Regions from separate parts of the Homo sapiens genome. Here all the other regions are linked to region 3. The links are contacts of gene promoters, found by promoter capture Hi-C in human tissues and cell types (Jung and others, 2019). All regions are on one chromosome and are shown on one strand. The core of a region is centred on a gene start or on the middle of the fragment in contact, and the rest is flanking DNA. Distances in the headings are between cores, read along the strand shown. Region 1 holds the start of CDK5RAP1 (CDK5RAP1 mitochondrial tRNA methylthiotransferase). Region 2 overlaps CBFA2T2 (CBFA2/RUNX1 partner transcriptional co-repressor 2). Region 3 holds the start of CBFA2T2 (CBFA2/RUNX1 partner transcriptional co-repressor 2).

The links. The method cuts DNA at HindIII sites, captures the fragments that hold promoters and counts their contacts. A contact is called where the count stands out against the background at its distance.
Region 1: a contact is called between the fragment with the promoter of CDK5RAP1 here and the fragment with the promoter of CBFA2T2 in region 3, in 3 of the 25 tissues and cell types used here (IMR-90 fibroblasts, aorta and stomach).
Region 2: a contact is called between a fragment that was not itself captured here and the fragment with the promoter of CBFA2T2 in region 3, in 4 of the 25 tissues and cell types used here (aorta, dorsolateral prefrontal cortex, mesenchymal stem cells and 1 more).

Annotation. Positions count from the first base shown.
Region 1 is chr20:33,400,085-33,403,360 of GRCh38, forward strand. CDK5RAP1 (CDK5RAP1 mitochondrial tRNA methylthiotransferase) reads right to left here and starts at 1,435. Exons shown (of 14, transcript NM_016408.4): 1 at 1,344-1,435. It overlaps LOC124904889 (a long non-coding RNA gene), which reads left to right and starts at 1,498. Exons shown (of 2, transcript XR_007067567.1): 1 at 1,498-1,591. RefSeq lists enhancers at 1,146-1,235, 1,376-1,575. The HindIII fragment of the contact is 17,720 bases long and covers 1-3,276 here.
Region 2 is chr20:33,575,853-33,578,846 of GRCh38, forward strand. All of the region lies in intron 1 of CBFA2T2 (CBFA2/RUNX1 partner transcriptional co-repressor 2), which reads left to right. Among named protein-coding and RNA genes, the nearest start is that of C20orf144, 85 kb to the right of the region's middle. The HindIII fragment of the contact is 7,720 bases long and covers 1-2,994 here.
Region 3 is chr20:33,488,694-33,491,654 of GRCh38, forward strand. CBFA2T2 (CBFA2/RUNX1 partner transcriptional co-repressor 2) reads left to right here and starts at 1,403. Exons shown (of 11, transcript NM_001032999.3): 1 at 1,403-1,608. The coding sequence starts at 1,575. RefSeq lists an enhancer at 570-1,118 and silencers at 1,213-1,432, 1,443-1,722. The HindIII fragment of the contact is 17,917 bases long and covers 1-2,961 here.

The sequences.
Region 1 (3,276 bases), core at 185-2,684, 89 kb before region 3:
GCATATACGCAGTTCACAATAGGGTTTGTGTTCCTGAGAAACTAATTCCGTGGCCAATCTGACGGGAGGCAGAGCTCAGGCAGTAATGCCAGCTTTGCTGCTCACCTCCTGCTGTGCAACCCGGTTCCTCACAGGCCACAGACAGGTACCATTCTACCACCTAGGGTTAGGGGAACCCTGCTATACACGTGTAAAGAGCAGATGTGGCCCATTACCTTTCCAATGAGATGACCTGCCACATCTGCTACTAGCACTTAGGAGCAATGCCAACCCAGTTTCAAGAGTCAGAGAAGAACAGCCTTAAAGTGTGAACTTTAAAATCGCCCCTTTCTACTCCATAATTGCTGTGTGACCTTTGGCAAGACAAATTTCTGTCTCTGAGCCGCCAATTCCACATGTGTAAAATAAGGATAAAAGCAGCACCTACCACCCCATAAGTGTTATTAAGAATAAGATATTAAAAACCCAACTTGAGATACAGTAAGCGTTCACTAACTGCACATTTACAGCCCACACCCCCTTTCACAGAGAGTATTAGAGCATCCTGGTTAAGAGTATGAACTCCACTAAAAATACAAAACTTAGCCGGGTGTGGTGGTATGCGCCTGTAATCCTAGCTACCCAGGAGGCTGAGGCAGGAGAATCGCTGGAACTCGCGGGGCAGGGGCTACAGTGAGCCGAGATCGCGTCACTGCACTCCAGCCTGGGCGACAGAGCAAGACTCCCGTCTCAAGAAAAAAAAAGTATGGACCCTGGAGTCAGAATCTGACCCCACTGCTGCCAAGCCAGCTAAACCTTAGGCACCTGTCTTAAACTCTGGGAGCCTCTAGATGGGGATAATAGCACCTATCTCCATAAGCCTACCGTAGGATCAAATGCAATAATACAAGCAAAATGCTTTGCATAACGCAATGTAGAAGCCTCTCTGGAGGCTCGAAATTAATTCTGACAGTCGGCAATGAGGCTGGAACAACAGCGTACAACATCCCAAACATTTTATTGGCTGGTTACAATGCGTTAGGCATGGTGCAAAGCATTTTCCGCGAATTATTACCTATAACCCTCATAGCAACCCTGTGAGGCAGGCTGTACTGTCAACCCCACTTCACGGGTGGCGAAGCGAAGCCTTGAAAGAAGTGGAGGTGACCTGTCCAAGGTCACACGGGGTTAGGCGGCGGGGTTAGGGTACGAACCCCTACAGCCTGACGCCAGGCCCCACGCCATAACCACCGTGCCATCCTCCCTCTTGAACACCGTGCGCTTCCCGGGATCCGCGGCCCCTCCTGCCCCAGGCGCCAGTCAAAAGCGGGTGCGCAGCCCACCCCGGCGGCCGCGCTGCTCACCTCCCGCAGCAGCAACAGTGCCCGGGGTCCCGCAGCGTAAGTTCTGCCGGCAAGTCGGATCCCCTCACAGGTCCGCCGCTGCGTTCATACACAAGCGACTTCCGTTCCGCCGCTACTTCAGGCCGGGTCATGCTAACGGAAGTGCTTCCTTTTTACAGTCCGGGTGGACCCAAAGCTCCGTGGCGGTGCTGAACTTTAGGGCAGCCACTAGCCACGGACTTAAGCGGCAATTGAGCTCCTCAAAGTGGGTGAGTGCAAATCAAATGTGCGCTAAATGTCAGATACACTGGATGTGGAAGAAGAAATGTCAAATAGTGTCAAATAGTTCATATATATAATGTTTATATTGATTATGTGCTGCAATAATTGTTGGGATATATTGGATTAAATAAGTACATTTGTTGAATTAGTTTTTTTTATTTGTAGCTATGGTGGTAGAAATATTTGAATTAAGTTCACCTGTTGTTTCTTTTTACTTTTTCAATGTGGCTAGCAGGGGGAAAAATAATATGGTGTGATCATGGCTCACTGCAGCTTCCGCCTCCCATGCTAAAGCAATCCTCCCACCTCACACTCCCAAGTGGCTGGGACTACAGGCAGGCGCCACCACGCCCAGCTAAAATTTTTTTAATTTTTTTGTAGAGACCGGTCTCCCCATGTTGCCCAGGCTGGTCTCAAACTCCTACCTAGGCGCAAGCCATCCTCCCACCTTGGCCTCCCAAAGTGCTGGGATTGTAGGCATGAGCCACCGTGTCCGGTCCTTACTGGGAAATTTTAAGTCACCTAAGAGGTTCACGCTCTATTTCTATTGGAGGGTGCTGCCCTGTAGGTTAATGACTTCCTGATTCACATCTCCAGCTGGACCCTCCCTGCAGTACCAGAGCCATAGCTCAGCTGCCTACTTGACACCCCTTCTTGAGTGTCTGATGACCATCTCTAACTTATACAGAACTCTTCATTTCCACACATGCACCTTCACCAAAAACCTGTACCTGTCATTCTGGCCCATCTCAGTAAATGGCCCAACCATCCTTCCAGGTGCACTAGGAGGAACTGAATGGTCATTTTCTTCACCTCCCTGGATCCCCACATTCTATCTGTCAGTAAGCCCTGTCAACTCTAACTCCAAAATGTCAAATCTGTCTACTCGGTAGCTACAACTACCCAGGCCACCATTGTCTCATCAGAAACAATCACAGTAGCCTGCTAATGGTCACCTTGTCTCCTGAGAACAGTTTCCCACACATAGCCTAAGGGAATTTGTGTTTGTTTTATTAAATCAAATTATATCACCCCTCTCCTGAAAACTCTCCGTGGCAGGCCGGGCGTGGTGGCTCACATCTGTAATCCCAGCACTTTGGGAGGCCAAGATGGGCAGATTGCTTGAGCCCAGGAGTTCTAGACTAGCCTGAGCAACATGATAAAACCCCATCTCTACAAAAAACACAAAAATTACCCCGGCATGGTGGTGGGTACCTGTGGTCCCAGCTACTCAGAAGGCTGAGGCAGGGAGGATTGCTTGAGCCAGGGAAGTTGAGGCGGCAGTGAACCATGACCTCAACACTGCACTCCAGCCTGGGTACCAGAATGAGACCATGTCTTGAAAAAGAAAAAAACAAAAACAGCCGGGCACGGTGGCTTATGCCTGTAATCCCAGCACTTTGGGAGGCTGAGGTGGGTGGATCATGAGGTCAGGAATTCGAGACCAGCCTGGCCAATATGGTAAAACCCCGTCTCTACTAAAAATAAAAAATAAAAAATAGCTGGGCATGGTGCCGCGTGCCTGTAGTCCCAGCTACTCGGGAGGCTGAGGCAGGACAATTGCTTGAACCCAGGAAGCGGAGATTGCAGTGAGCCAAGATCGAGCCACTGCACTCCAGCCTGGGCGACAGAGCAAGACTCCATCTCAAAAAAAAAAAAAAAAAGAAAAGAA
Region 2 (2,994 bases), core at 248-2,747, 87 kb after region 3:
CTGCAAGCTCCACCTCCCGGGTTCACACCACTCTCCTGCCTCAGCCTCCCGAGTAGCTGGGACTACAGGCGCCAGCCACCACGCCTGGCTAATTTTTTTTTTTTTAATGTATTTTTAGTAGAGACGGGGTTTCACCATGTTAGCCAGGATGGCCTCGATCTCCTGATCTCGTGATCCGCCCACCTTGGCCTCCCAAAGTGTTGGGATTACAGGCGTGAGCCACCGCGCCTGGCCTAAGAGGTGTTTATAAGAAGCTGTAAGAGTCCAAATGTGGGAGGTTTTATTTCTGTCAAGGTGCACTTGAGTCTACCAGGGAGGACTTGGAGTTAGACCTTAAAGTAGGAGTTTCTAAAGTGCCAGAGACAGGGAAAGCAGGGCATTGCAGGTGGAGAGCACAACCTGTTTTATAGGCTTTCTGCCTCCTTAATATCTAGCAGAGGTCTCATCTTAATATAAAAGTAGATACTGGAACTTAGGAGTTTGCTCTGATGGCAGACATGGATACTTGCCCTGCCAGAGTGCCCATCTACCTTCCATTTATGTTGTTTGGATTCAGTCTCCACTATACTATAGCCTTATATTTGCATGGTGCTTTTAATTTTCAAAGCTTTTTATCCAAATAACAGCCCCTCAGGGATAGGAAATAAAAGCCAGCTGGTAGTGTTTTTATTTTTATAGAGGAGAAAACTGAGACATCACCATCATATCAGCATTTCATTTCCCAGATAAGAAGGTCTTTTTTTCATCTCTTGATTGCAAAGGGTGCTGCCCAACAGGAATAACCTCTCCCAATTTTCTGGGCACAGCCCAGAGTGCTGACTGAGGCAGCCACCAGGAGGGCGCCAGCAAGGCAGACAGCATGGCTGCTGATCACAGAGCTAACAGCTCGACATCTGCAGGCTGCAGCTGTACATTTTTGCTACAGCACATCCGTATTTCTGCTCACACTTGTGAAGAATCACAGAGTTTGGAAGAATATGAGTTAAACCGTTCCAAGTGTATAAGTGTGCTCCATCTCTGGGAGTTTTATTCTGTACTGGGTGGAGTGGTCTATGAGATCTTATAGCTGCTACTTTTCTCTGTTTATTTATTGCCATATTTAGTCCATCTTCCCTGTCCTAATTTTAGTTCAATGCCAAAAAAAGATGGAGCACTCCATAATAGATGAATTGAGAGGGTGCTGATTGTGTCACTGAAATGTTTGCCAAAGAAATTGTTTTTCTAGCTGATTTTGTTCTGCCTCCATCTTTCAGTCTATTTGGAAAACACAGTAGAGTACCTGGTTATCTTTCAGAGTGTCATTGTTAAATAATCATTTCAGTAAGCAGTGATGGCTGTTGATCATTTTAGACTTGTGCCTATACTAAGTATTTATCCATTTTTCTAATATACCTGGATTTTTAAAAATATTGATGGATAAAAACTTTCTGGATTGTTGATTTTGAGGAGGTATACCAAGAAGAGAAGGGTGATCTTGGTGTGGAGCCAACATCTTTGAAATCTTGGCTTATTTGTTCTTACTCCTTAAGGCACCCCATTGCCACTCCTTAAGCCCATGTATTTGACAGTGGGGCTTTTTGTCAGAAGCCTCTCTGATTGTCATTTGGGGACTTAAATGGGCTCCTACATAACAGCTTCTATGCTTCAATTTTCTAACTTGTCCAGGGTGTGCTTCAGCTGTAGACTGTGTATTTACGTTCATATATTTGTGAAGAAAGACAGGAACTATATAGTAGAATGTGAAGTCTCTCTGAACTGTAATCAATGTGTTTTATTAAATTCTTGGTCACAATGTGCAAACTTCATTGAGTCCTACAATAATTAATTCTTTTTGCATTATTTATTTTGCTATAGTATGGTCTCTGGAGCTCAGCAGAGCTGCCATTTCTTAGCCATATGACTTGGGACATAATTTTTGACTTCTCTGAGCCTTAGCTTCTGGTTAAATAAAGTGGTATTGGAGATGGTACCTTCTACTGTCTTAGTGTCATTTAAATAAGAAAATATTTTAGCACCATTCTTTGCGTGTAATAAATATTTTGTTATTTCTAAATGAATATATGAAGATGGAGAGTAATGGTAGCTATTACTATTATAGTTATTTCCTGACTTGTATTTATCCTTCCCAGCAAGAAAGTCTTGTCCTACTCAAATCTTGGGTAAATATGAAACTTGCTTCATTATCAGTGTGGATTGAGAAGGTGTGTACGGTGTTCCTGGGCATCTGAAGAAAGGCTTTTAAATCAGCTTTCCTTTGTGGTCAGTTGGTCACAAATAACATCAAAATATCAATTGTTAATATTCATATTTATTTTTTCCTTTACAGCTGACTACTTTAGTATTGGTACACCTAATTAAAATTTTTCCACCTCTAAAATTTTTTCTAGGGCAATTTATATATGATTGAATTAATTTACATTGAGTATTAGTTTCCTTGGTTTTTAAAAATAGATCCCCCCAAAATGGTAAGGAGTTGAGAAGTTAAGGCTGTGAGCAAATAGAGAATTTGGGCCTAAAGTTTAATGTGGAAATGAGAAGATGATTTCAATTGATTTGTAGAAAGAACCATAATGAAGGGAATTTTCTTAAGTAAACTTATGTTTGTACCCATTTGCTACTATTTTTCTCTTAGAGCTTTTAGCACTTTCTCCCTGTCATAAGGTTGTAGAGTTGCCATACTCTGAGGTGTCCCACAAGGCTAGCACAACAGCCCTCTGCTTGTGGTGCATACAGCTATCATCCAAAGGGGCCAACCACATGACATGGCAGTGTATTTCCAGATGTCATTCTCTCTGTTTGGATGACTTGGGAGCTTAAGAAGGGTATTTTCTCTTGAATAGGAGAAAAATTGTTACTTTGGCATAAGGCCCACTCTGGCACCATTCCCACATCTGTTATTGATTAGAAGTGAATGCTGGTCAGTCAGGATGCAAGAGTGCTGGTCCGATTATCAAGCTCAGCCTTCAGGATGAAATACTGCAGGAAATCTGAAGG
Region 3 (2,961 bases), core at 153-2,652:
GAGTAGCTGGGATTATGGACACCCGCCACCGCGCCCAGCTAATTTTTTTGTTTTGTTTTGTTTTGTTTTTTGAGAGGGAGTCTCGCTCTGTCACCCAGGTGGGAGTGCAGTGTCGTGATCTTGGCTCGGTGCAACCTCCGCCTCCGGGGTTCAAGCAATTCTCCTGTCTCAGCCTCCTGATTAGCTGGGATTACAGGCTTGTGAAACCAAGTCCAGCTAATTTTTGTATTTTTAGTACAGACGGGGTTTCACCACGTTGGTCAGGCTGGTCTCCAAATCCTGAGCTGTGATCTGCCAGCTTCGGCGTCCCAAAGTGCTGGGATTACAGGGGTGAGCCACAGCTCCTGGCCTTGTTTTGTTTTTTTGATACGGAGTTTTGCTCTTTTTGCTCAGGCTGGAGTGCAATGGCTCCGATCTCGGCTCACTGCAACCTCCCCCTCCCGGATTCAAGTGATTCTCCTGCCCCAGCCTCCCGAGTAGCTGGGACTAAAGGCACGCGCCACCGCACCAGGCTAATTTTTGTATTTTTATTTATTTATTTTTTTAGTAGAGATAGGGTTTCACCTTATAGGCCAGACTGGTCTTCAAACTCCTGACCTCGTGATCCTCCCGCCTCGGCCTCCCAAAGTGCTAGGATTACAGGCTTGAGCCACTGCGCCCGGCTCTAAGTTTTGTATTTTTAGTAGAGACAGCGTTTCGCCACATTGGCCAGACTAGCCTCGAAGTTCTGACCTCAGGTAATCCACCCTCCTCGGCCTCCCAAAGTGTTAGGATTATAGGCCTGAGCCACCGTGCCTGGTCTATTTTTTATTTTTATTTATTTATTTTTTTAATAGAGACGCTAGTCTCAAACTCCTGAGCTCAAGTGACTCTCCTTTGGCCTCCCAAAGTACTAGGATTACAGGCGTGGGCCACCACGCCCGGCCAACAGTTATTAAAATTACGATGATGAAATTTTAGGCATTTAGAATACTTCAGGCCAAAAACACTTTGAGCCAGGGGGCTCGCTCAAAGGCATGCGCAAAAGCCATCAGGCCTGTACCTGGAGAACTCAGGTGAGACGTTGCCACTCGTTGTAATCCCTCCCCCTAGCACTCGGCCCCCGAGCCTGGGCCACTGCCCTGGCTACACCGGGAAGTCTGGAGCTAGAAAGTGGGCCGTGCGCGTGACGGGCGCGCGTGACGCCGAGGGGGCAGGTCTGAGAAGCAGGCTGCGCCGGGATTCGGCGGTCGGTTCCCGCGGAAGGGGCGGGTCAGGTTAGGGGGCGGTGCTTAATGGGAGCTGGTCTTGGGGCCGGGCTTCCGCGTGCGTTGGCCTGGCGGCGAGAGCGCGCGGCGGGGGCGTGCCCGGCGGGCGGGGCGGGGCCAGCCGGGGGCGGGGCGGGGCGCGGCCTAACGGCGGCGGCGGCGGCGGCGACGGCGACAGCAGCGGTGGTGGTGTCTGGTTAGCTCGGCGGCTGCAGATCTCGCGGCGACGCCTGCGAGGGACCCGGGCCGCGGGTCGAGGCGGGCGGCGCCTGCGAGGGACCCGTGTCGCGGGTAGAGGCGGGCGGCGCGCGGCGGCGGCGCTCGGCGATGGTAGGCGTCCCTGGAGCGGCCGCCTTCCAGCGTAAGTGGGGCGTGAATGCGGGCGGCCGAGGGGGGCGTGTGAGGGCCTGCGGCTCCGCAGGCGCGGTGATTCCGAGTGCCCCGGGCGCGAGGCCGGGAGTGGAAACTGAGGCCCGAAGCGGGGCGGCGGATCCAAGGTCACGCAGCGGGGCGGGCCTTCCCGGGCTCCTGAGGCCACCCCGTCGCTTCCTGCGCCGCCCGAAGAGCTCGGGGCTCACGGTGTGAGGGAAATTGTGGGGCCCGCGGCCTCGGAACTTAGGCCGGGCCGGCGTCCATGGGACTTGCCGGCGGGCAAGAATCATTTTGTTGTCCCAGCGCTGGGGCCACGAAGTCCGGCTCCTGGGGAAATACTACACCCGCCCGATGTTGAGGGTTGGAGGAGATGAGAATGGCCCCTCGGAGGGCCTGTTTGAGCGCAGGCTCAGTAGTTGGCTACCTGGGTTCACATCCAGGCTTCCCCATTTAGGTAGTGACCTTGGCTCTCCCGGTGCCTCAGTTCCCCCATCTGCAAAATGGGGATGTGGAGCGGGTTCCCTCCCTCCCCCAGGGTTCTTGGGTTTTGTGAGGCCAGTAAAACGCTTGACACCGACCGTGGCACACACACAATTGTGAAAACTGTCATTATTGTAATCGTCCTTTATTAATCTGATCCAGTGTGCACCGCACTCGGAAAAGTCCGAAATTAGGCTCTAGCCGTGTTAAGATTTTGTTTTGTTGTCTGTTAGTCCTGCTCCATGATCTAATTGTTATTCTTACTTCCATTTAGCCATTCCAGTATTTATCTAGTGTTCCTCCTTGATGTGTGAGATCCTTGGGGGAGGGGTGGCTTCTCTGAATAAGAACAATAAAATTTTAATTGTTTTTCATTATTGTAATTATAATAGCCAACATTTTTTTGAGCACCAGACATTTTGCATTCTATTCACTTAATATTTATTAAATCATATAGTAAGTTTAAAAATACCATTCCAGGCCCTGGGAATACAATAAACAAGATAGACCGAACTGGGGTTTTGAGTTTAGTTAGGAGAGGGAGAGACATAGTAAATGAGGAAACAGATAAACATGTTTTGCATGTTTTTTTAATTGTTTAATCTTGATGACATCCTAAGTAAGACATTATTTGAGGATGCCCATTTTGCAGAGGATGAAACTGAGTAACAGAAGGTACTCTGAGTACTAGTCTCAGAGCTGATGTCCTTAAACACGTGAAAGGGAGGCTTTACGCTTCTTTTTTTTTGCACCCATTAAATGTTGGATTGAAGATAGAAAAAGTAGATACACCCAGCTTGCAGTTACTGCTTTTGATGGTTTGATCCATTCCTCATGAAATTTCCAACTAAAGAGGCGGATA